Linked DNA regions of Homo sapiens: region 2 is linked to region 1. The links are contacts of gene promoters, found by promoter capture Hi-C in human tissues and cell types (Jung and others, 2019). All regions are on one chromosome and are shown on one strand. Each heading gives the region's core, a stretch centred on a gene start or on the middle of the fragment in contact. The rest is flanking DNA. Distances are from core to core; before and after follow the strand shown. Region 1 holds the start of TRIM35 (tripartite motif containing 35). Region 2 has its middle 54 kb from the start of MIR6843.

Evidence for each region. Contacts are between HindIII fragments. The study calls those that stand out against the background at their distance.
Region 2: a fragment that was not itself captured here is called in contact with the fragment with the promoter of TRIM35 in region 1 in 2 of the 25 tissues and cell types used here (bladder and thymus).

What each region holds. Positions count from the first base shown.
Region 1 is chr8:27,308,361-27,313,127 of GRCh38, reverse strand. It overlaps TRIM35 (tripartite motif containing 35), which reads left to right and starts at 1,856. Exons shown (of 6, transcript NM_171982.5): 1 at 1,856-2,327. The coding sequence starts at 1,893. It also overlaps a transcript of PTK2B not described here. RefSeq lists a silencer at 1,638-1,847 and enhancers at 1,998-2,147, 2,158-2,377, 2,778-2,887. The HindIII fragment of the contact is 16,679 bases long and covers 1-4,767 here.
Region 2 is chr8:27,554,135-27,558,441 of GRCh38, reverse strand. No RefSeq gene overlaps it. Among named protein-coding and RNA genes, the nearest start is that of MIR6843, 54 kb to the left of the region's middle. RefSeq lists an enhancer at 3,207-3,707. The HindIII fragment of the contact is 4,745 bases long and covers 1-4,138 here.

The DNA of each region.
Region 1 (4,767 bases), core at 607-3,106:
TATCAGGAGAACAGCATGGGGGGAAAACCACCCCTGTGATTCAATTACCTCCACCTGGTCTCTCCCTTGACACGTGGGAATTATGGGGATTACAATTCAAGATGAGATTTGGGGTGGGGACACAGCCAAACCATATCATGCCCCTCAGTCTAATTCTTTCTTCCAAGGAGGCAAGAATTGAGGTTGCTGCAGACCCATACAGATTCACTGCTGTTAACTCAGACACCTTCTACCCCTAACAGGTATGGGGTAGGACCCTCTCTGGAATCGGGCTCTTATGGCCTACAGTCAAACAAGGTAGGTCAGATAATTTCTTTATGGCCAGTTATTCCACAGAAAGGCAGAGAGAAAGAGTAATATTTTAAGGTTTCAAGACTGGCTTTAGGAAAAAGGGGTTCTGGTTTCTATGACCTGCCTTGGGGAAAAGGAATTCTAATTTCTATGGCTATCCTTGGGGGACTGAGAGATAGGAGGGCAGAGAAAAATTTCTGCTTTTGAGGCCATTTTGGGGTATTGTTTTCTGAGTTTCAACACTAACAAGTTTGCATGCCAAAATTTCATGAATACTGCTAAAAGATGAAACTCCTGGGTCAGAGACAAAGGATAATACTAACAGCAATAATAGTAGTCACAGTATTGTCATTGGGCCAGTTTCTGAGCCCTAATTCTTGCAAGACTATGTGATGAAGGCTACAGTAGGTTGCATTACAGGAGAGGGGCCCCAAGTTTAGGAAACTCACATCTCTTATAATTGGGAATAAGTCTGCCAGATCTTTGGAGAGACAAGAATTCTGTCTTCCAGGGCTATTCAATGCAGAAACATCCTTGAAAAGATAGTTGGAAAAAGGCAGTCAGTGCCTCTGCTCTCTCAAGACATGCAGGAACATGACACATGTGAATTGTCTCCCAATAGAAAAGGAATGAAAGTGCATCGTGTGAAAAGTATTCTGCATCTGGAGGCTGTAAAGTGATCAAACTGAAGCAGGAATGAAGATCTGAAGGAACCATCCAGGCCTACTGTACCTGGCAAGAATTGAGCATGAACTCTAGTTATCTCAGCTAAACTTTGCAGAAGTCCTCAATTTCACTGTTTTAATGGGCACTTGCCCATTAAAACAGTGGTTGTCATGAGCACTTTCCACATTTATTTCACTTTATCCTCACACTTCATGGAAACAGAGCTATTACAGCCATTGTACTCATGAGTAAATGGACTTTGAAACATGATGACCTGTTCACTTTTTCAACCACAGGACAAGAATCAGGTTTTCTCGGAGCTCTTCTGCCGCCACCCCTCTCTTGTTTCTCCTTACCGCGGCGGGCCAGAAGAAGACTGGCCAAAATAAGTAAACGACTAATGCAAGAGTGGCATAGGTCCTCAAAAAGGCGCTGCAAACTTAAGTGGTGATTGCACTCACGGTGCTTTAAGACCCAGCCACTACTTCGGAAGCAGGAAGTTGGCATCTCTGGTTTCTCCCATCCGCGGGCCTGAGGTTCCCGGGGATTGGTTAAGGTAGAGGCTCCTTTTCCCATTTGCAGCCGGAAGTAGGTTTCCAGTAACACGGAAGCCCTACTACGCCGCCTGGGAGACCCTTCCGTGCTACCCCGGCCAGGGACCCGCCCGGACCTGAGGAGGCGGGAACTGCGGGCAGAAGGCCCACCCCGCTCTCCCAAGATTTCCCGCGCACACCGGAAGTGGGTGGGGCTCCTCCGAGCGCCCCCTCCCTCCCCCTCGCCATCCCCCCCGCACGATTGGCCAGCGCCGCTGTCTCTCAGCGTTCCAGGGGAAGGGACTGGGCGATTCCCAGCACTCGGGTCGCGGGCGTTGGCAGCCGGGCGGGTGGGAGGGGCCGGAGCAAAAGTTCCGGGCGCCCGAGCCGGCTGCTCGTGCCATGGAGCGGAGTCCCGACGTGTCCCCCGGGCCTTCCCGCTCCTTCAAGGAGGAGTTGCTCTGCGCCGTCTGCTACGACCCCTTCCGCGACGCAGTCACTCTGCGCTGCGGCCACAACTTCTGCCGCGGGTGCGTGAGCCGCTGCTGGGAGGTGCAGGTGTCGCCCACCTGCCCAGTGTGCAAAGACCGCGCGTCACCCGCCGACCTGCGCACCAACCACACCCTCAACAACCTGGTGGAGAAGCTGCTGCGCGAGGAGGCCGAGGGCGCGCGCTGGACCAGCTACCGCTTCTCGCGTGTCTGCCGCCTGCACCGCGGACAGCTCAGCCTCTTCTGCCTCGAGGACAAGGAGCTGCTGTGCTGCTCCTGCCAGGCCGACCCCCGACACCAGGGGCACCGCGTGCAGCCGGTGAAGGACACTGCCCACGACTTTCGGGTAAGAGCAGCGATTTGCACGAGGCGGCCGAGCCGGGTCTGGAACCCGGAATCCCTTGGCTCTGCGGCTCCCGCCCCTCCTGCCTGCCAGAGCCCAGTGTGCCCGCGTCTCGCTCCCAGCATGCAGGACCCCACCTCTCCGACCCAGGTTCTCAGGGCTGGCTGCTTCTTCAAGGTCGGCCCAGGGGCCCGTGCTGGGAGAAGAGAATGCGAACGGAAAGTGACAGATGAGGTTACATGATGTTCCCAAGACAGCGACACTTGCTTCTGAAGGGCCCAGGCCATGCACCCCTTGTGCCAGCCGGGTGTGGCCCAGGTCCCTTTAAGCGGCACGGATGTGGGTGCAGCCCACGAGCCCTGTAGCTTGGCACACTCAATTTAGAAGTGGAGGAGGAGCCACAGACCTGGCCAGGGGTGTGGAGTCTTAAGATTTCCCCCAAACCAGTCACCTACTTGCCAAGCTGATCCCGCGGTTTGTATTATCTGAGTGAGAGGTCTCTGACCCTGGCTGGCTGGCCTATTCTGGTTTATAAAGCAGCATCTCCATATCTAGAGTTCTAGTGACTATACATAAACCCAGGAGCAACTTACAGGGCAAAACTAACATGGAGAATTCTTTGATATAGGAAGGAAAAATGAATAGAAGATAAGGGTTAGCCTAACTCAGCATTTTCCAAAACGTTTAATCTTAGCCCATAGGAAGCAATGCATTTTCCCTTGTGACCCAGAACATATGTATCAGTTGAAACAAAAGTTTTCTGAACATGTCCATGGCACTCTGATATTTTCTGTTACTTCCCTTTGTTTTTTTTTTTTTTTGAGACCTCTATCGCCCAGGTTAGAGTGCAGTGGCGTGCTCTTAGCTCACTGCAACCTCCGCCTCCTGGGTTCAAGCGATTCTGGTGCCTCAGCCTCCCGAGTAGCTGAGATTACAGGCATGTACCAACACGCCTGGCTAATTTTTTTTTTTTTTTAATTTCTAGTAGAGGCAGGGTTTCACCATGTTGGCCAGGCTGGTCTGGAACTCCTGGCCTCAAGTGATCTGCCCTCCTCTGCCTCCCAAACTACTGGGATTACAGGCGTGAGCCACTCCGCCTGGCCTCTGTTACTTTTAAAAATTACCCAGAATGTGAAACATTGAATTTATTTCATCACCTGCTAATGCATGAGTCAGAGCCCCAATTGGGAGAACACTGGGTAGCTGGCCCGAAGCTGCATGGACTGGAGAGGAGGAGCTGCCCGAGTCCCCTGTGCCTGGTTTCTGGCCCCCTCTGTGGCCCTGCCTTCTTTTTTTGCAATACCTTTTTAAATACGGAAGTCTGTTCCGCTCCAAATGCATTTGACAAAGTTTAATTGAAGGGGAATGTAAGGATGCTGTCAGTACGCATGTCTCAATGAGTAACCCTGTTACTCCTGTCATCTTTTTTGTTTAACATGGGTCCATGTCAATGCTTTTCCTGTTTCCACTGGCAGAAGTGACAGATCCTGATTTGGGACAGCTGGAATAAGTGCTGGCCAGCCAGGGGTCTGGGGCCCAGGTAAAGGAGGGATCATGGTTCAGGTCATGACTGATGCCTATTTGGCTGGCCGAGGTGCTGATCAGGAGATGCTGGGGTCAGGGCTGAGAACACCCAGGCAGAGCCCCCAGGCTGGGGCCAAGCCAGGATTCAAGAGCAGAGAGCCATGCACCAGCAGATGCCTGGTACTGCAAGGTCCCAGGGATACTGCAGGAGACAAGATAGACCATTTCCAGCCTCAAGGAGCTTCCAGCAGAGACCCGAGGGAAGAGGAGGTGTTAGCCAGGTGAAAGAGGGTATTTCAGATAGAGGCAGCAGCATTTGGAAGGGTCCAGAAGTGGGAAAGCCTGACTTTCTAGGCACTGAGGGAATTTAAGGGTAGTTAGAATGAGGAGGGACGTGCAGGAGGATCCAGGAGGCCGGTGGCTCACCCTTGCTGTGAACAGCAGCTGGGGGTTTTAGCAGAAGAATGATGGTGTCAAGTCAGTGGACACTCAGGATGATGTCAGGGGCTGAGTAGTCTAGTCCCAAATGGATCTGAGAAGAATGAGAGCCAGGTGTGGTCAGCCTGATGCAGGGTGCAAATCACTCATTTACTAGACAAATGGGTACTGATGGCTGTTGTGTGCTGTGGCCTCTTCTTAGCTTCATGGAATTCTCATTTGAGCAGGGGGCATAGACAGTCAATAGACAAGATGTAGTTCTGTGTGATTCAAGGTAGGTGGTTGTGGGGGAGCGGTATGGGAAGATTCCCTCCACCACTTGGTAAGAAGGGACTGGGTAAGAAGCTGTGTGCCTCACTGAGGGGGTTTTCCGTTTTGTGCTGTGGGGAGCTCTGAAAGATTCTAAACAGGGGAGTTTGTGATGGGATGTGTGTTTTAGAGAAAGATTACTTTGCCAACTATCTATGTGAGGAACAGCAAA
Region 2 (4,307 bases), core at 517-3,016, 250 kb before region 1:
TGAGAACACAAACGTCTGTTTAAGTTACCTGATCTGTGGGACTTTGTTATGGCAGCCATAGCAGATCGTGTCTGCGAGCCGGAGAGCCTGGGGTCAGGGCCTCAGGAGAGAATAGGGCAAGGCCAGGACTCTTCCCTTTGCGTCTGCGCACTTGGGGCTGTCCCTGAGGAAGGGGCAGGGCCTGCAGGGCCCCAGAACTGCCAGCTCCATGGCCCAGGGGCAGAGATCCCCGCAGGACCGCAGACTCCCTGCTGGAAAAGGCAGGGCTTGGGGTTGGGGGGGCCTTGGGGCTGAGACTGGAGAAAGCAGCTGTCAGGTTAGCAGCTGTCCCTTCTCCACACTCACTGTCCCAAAGCTCTGCAAGGGGCCCAGGGGCTGTGGCCAACACAAGGACTGACTGGTATCAAGTCCTGGGGACAGAGAGGCGCCTGGCAAGCGGGGAGGGCATGCAGAGGTGTAGCCTGGTATCACCCTAAACCAAGGACTTGCTTCTGCAGACCCTAAAGGAAAGAAGCTGCAGCGAAATTAATCTGAGTAGAGAGTTTATTTGGGCCAAGCTTGCAAATTGCAACCTGGGAGCATAGATTCAAGTTGCCCTGAATAGACACTCTGATTAGCAGCAGTTACAGATGGACTTTCAAGGCAAAAAAGGGGGACAGGGAGTGGACTGATACAAAATTGTCAGGATTTCTCTTTGCTTTACAGAAATAACACTGATTAGTTAGCTAATAGCTAGACGTTGTTAAGCTATAGGGTATGGGTCGGAGTGTCCAGTGTGGCACCGTTAGGTTAATTTATAAGTACTTGTGGCAGAAGCAAGCAGCTTCAAGAGATGGAGACAGAGCTCAAAGCCGGGAGGAGGGCATGATTGCTATATCGTTTTAATGTCTCTTTGGGCCTGGCCATTAAAAGGATTGTGTTCCTCAGATAAAAGTTATTTTCTTTTCTAACTCCCCACTTCCTTCTCAAACCCTGTCCTTACAATTTTAAGGAAAGTACATTCTCCTCTCCACCCACAAATTCCCCTTTCAGCTATAGTCCAGTCCAAGTGCTCCTTTTTTCTTGACTACATTTTGAGCCTAGTGTTGGGGGGTGTGAGTGGGCCTGATCTAGTCCACAGCCCTGGGACCCTTGTGGACTTTCTGCCCTTCTCCCCTGAAATTTCCAGAGCCTGGATCCATGCAGGAGGTTTCCTTTCTTCACCTGGCATTACTGCCCTTGGATGGAATGCTCCTACCCCCGCCCTAAGCCAAGCACATCAATTTTATAAACTGCCTTTATTGAAAAAAATAAAATTACATGAGAATATGAAACTCAGCAAAAATCACGTGAATCAGTTCATTCGATCTGTGTTGCCACCGTCCCATGATTGTGATCGAGGGGTTATTTATTTCCTCTTGCCTGAAGGACTTAGCCTGTTCTGGACTTGCTGAGTCTTAACTTTTACAAACATTTCTTGGCAAGGAAAATGAATGTTGCTGCCTTAGTGGTCACCGAAGGGCTTGTTTTTAGATCTTTTCCCCTCCCAGACTTGTTAATCATTGAGAATGCGCTCCTTAATACACCATTTGTACCTGGGAACCTAACACATTTCTGTGAAACACCCGTGTCCTTACTGTGGACATTGTGAAGGGTGTTTAATCATTTCTGGTCTGCAGGTCTCTCTTCCTTGCCTCATTCCACCAGCATGTTCCCTTTAAAATACAACACAGGGCATAACGTTCCTTCAGCACATGTGAGACAAAGTAGACGAGGCTGCCTAAAGTACTTCAGACTTCCTTTACCATCTGAATCCAAGATAATTGATAAAGAGGATGAATATGTATTTGTCCCTTAATACTTTCAAATGAAAATGAACACCACTATTTGGGGCTTTCTCAGGAATTCTCTTACTTTGAGTTGCATAAATAAAAAGTTGTTTCTGTCAGGCCAGGCGCAGTGGCTTACACCTGTAATCCCAGCACTTTGGGAGGCCAAGGCAGGTGCATCACCTGAGGTTAGGAGTTCGAGACCAGCCTGGCTAACATGGTGAAATCCTGTCTCTACTAAAAATACAAAAAATTAGCTGGGCATGGTGGTGGGCACCTGTAATCCCAGCTACTTGGAAGGCTGAGGCAGGAGAATTGCTTGAACCCGGGAGGTGGAGGTTGCAGTGAGCCGAGATCGTGTCACTGCACTCCAGCCTGGGCAACAGAGACTCTGTCTCAAAAACAAACAAACAAAAAATTGTTTCTGTCTTTGAAACTCTGACGTTTAAGCCCACATAGTCACATTGGAAGGGCCTTAAAGCATGGGCTATTGGACCTTCTCCTGCCCTTCTGTCTCTGGTCCTCTTTCTTCCCCAAAATGGGGTCACAAAAACTAGAATTCCTCTTCCCCCAAGGTGGTCATAGACTCTAGACCTCCTCTCCCCCAAAGCAAGCCATAAAACTTAGATCACTTTCTCCCCTCTCCCTTGAAGACCCTCGTTCCAGAGGGGTCCTGCCCTATACCTGGGAGGAAGGAATGCTATACAGAAAGGCCAAGAAGAATCTGAGCACACAGGCCTTGCTGGGTTCCCCCTTAGTCTATTACAATGAGGTCATGGCCTTTTGTCAATCACTTTTCCACAGGACTGTCCATTCTTCATAGAACACAAGCATGAAAACAGACAGTTCTCCTGGGTCTTCGTTTCTGAAGTCTCCCTTGTCATGTAAAATTGTGATTAAATAAATGTGGTATGCTTTTCCCTTGTTTACTGTCTTTTGCTATAGAAGAATCAGCCGTGACCCTTATGATGGGTGAGAAGAAGTATCATACCTTCCACCCCTACACAATCTAACCCACAGAATGGGAGAGTATATTTGCAAATCATATATCTTATAAGGGATAAATATCCAGAATATACAAGATTTAACATTCAACAACAACACAAAACAACCCAACAAAAAATAGACAAAGGGCTTGAATGGACATTTCAAAGATATATATAGATGGTCAATAAGCACATGAAAGATATTCTACATCGGGGGAGGAGCCAAGATGGCCAAATAGGAAGACCTCCGGTCTACAGCTCCCAGGGTGAGCGATGCAGAAGACAGGTGATTTCTGCATTTCCATCTGAGGTACCGGGTTCATCTCACTAGGGAGTGCCAGACAGTGGGCGCAGGTCAGTGGGTGCGTGCACCGTGCATGAGCCGAAGCAGGGCGAGGCATTGCCTCACTCGGGAAGCGCAAGGGGTCAGGGAGTTCCCTTTCCTAGACAAAGAAAGGGGTGACAGATGGCACCTGGAAAATCGGGTCACTCCCACCCGAATACTGCGCTTTTCCAACGGGCTTAAAAAACAGCACAACAGGAGATTATATCCCGCACATGGCTCGGAGGGTCCTACACCCACGGAGTCTCGCTGATTGCTAGCACAGCAGTCTGAGATCAAACTGCAAGGCGGCAGCGAGGCTAGGGGAGGGGTGCCCGCCATTGCCCAGGCTTGCTTAGGTAAACAAAGCAGCCGGGAAGCTTGAACTGGGTGGAGCCCACCACAGCTCAAGGAGGCCTGCCTGCCTCTGTAGGCTCCACCTCTGGGGGCAGGGCACAGACAAACAAAAAGACAGCAGTAACCTCTGCAGACTTAAATGTCCCTGTCTGACAGCTTTGAAGAGAGAAGTGGTTCTCCCAGCACGCAGCTGGAGATCTGAGAACGGGCAGACTGCCTCCTCAAGTGGGTCCCTGACCCCTGACCCCCGACCCCCGAGCAGCCTAACTAGGAGGCACCCCCCAGCAGGGGCAGACTGACACCTCACACGGCCGGGTACTCCAACAGACCTGCAGCTGAGGGTCCTGTCTGTTAGAAGGAAAACTAACAAACAGAAAGGACATCCACACCAAAACCCATCTGTTCATCACCATCATTAAAGACCAAAAGTAGATAAAACCACAAAGATGGGGAAAAAACAGAGTAGAAAAACTGGAAACTCTAAAAAGCAGAGCACCTCTGCTCCTACAAAGGAACGCAGTTCCTCACCAGCAACAGAACAAAGCTGGATGGAGAATGACTTTGACGAGCTGAGAGAAGAAGGCTTCAGATGATCAAATTACTCCGAGCTATGGGAGGACATTCAAACCAAAGGCAAAGAAGTTGAAAACTTTGAAAAAAATTTAGAAGAATATATAACTAGAATAACCAATACAGAGAAGTGCTTAAAGGAGCTGATGGAGCTGAAAACCAAGGCTTGAGAACTACGTGAAGAATGCAGAAGCCTCAGGAGCCGATGCGATCAACTGGAAGAAAGGGTATCAGCGATGGAAGATGAAATGAATGAAGTGAAGC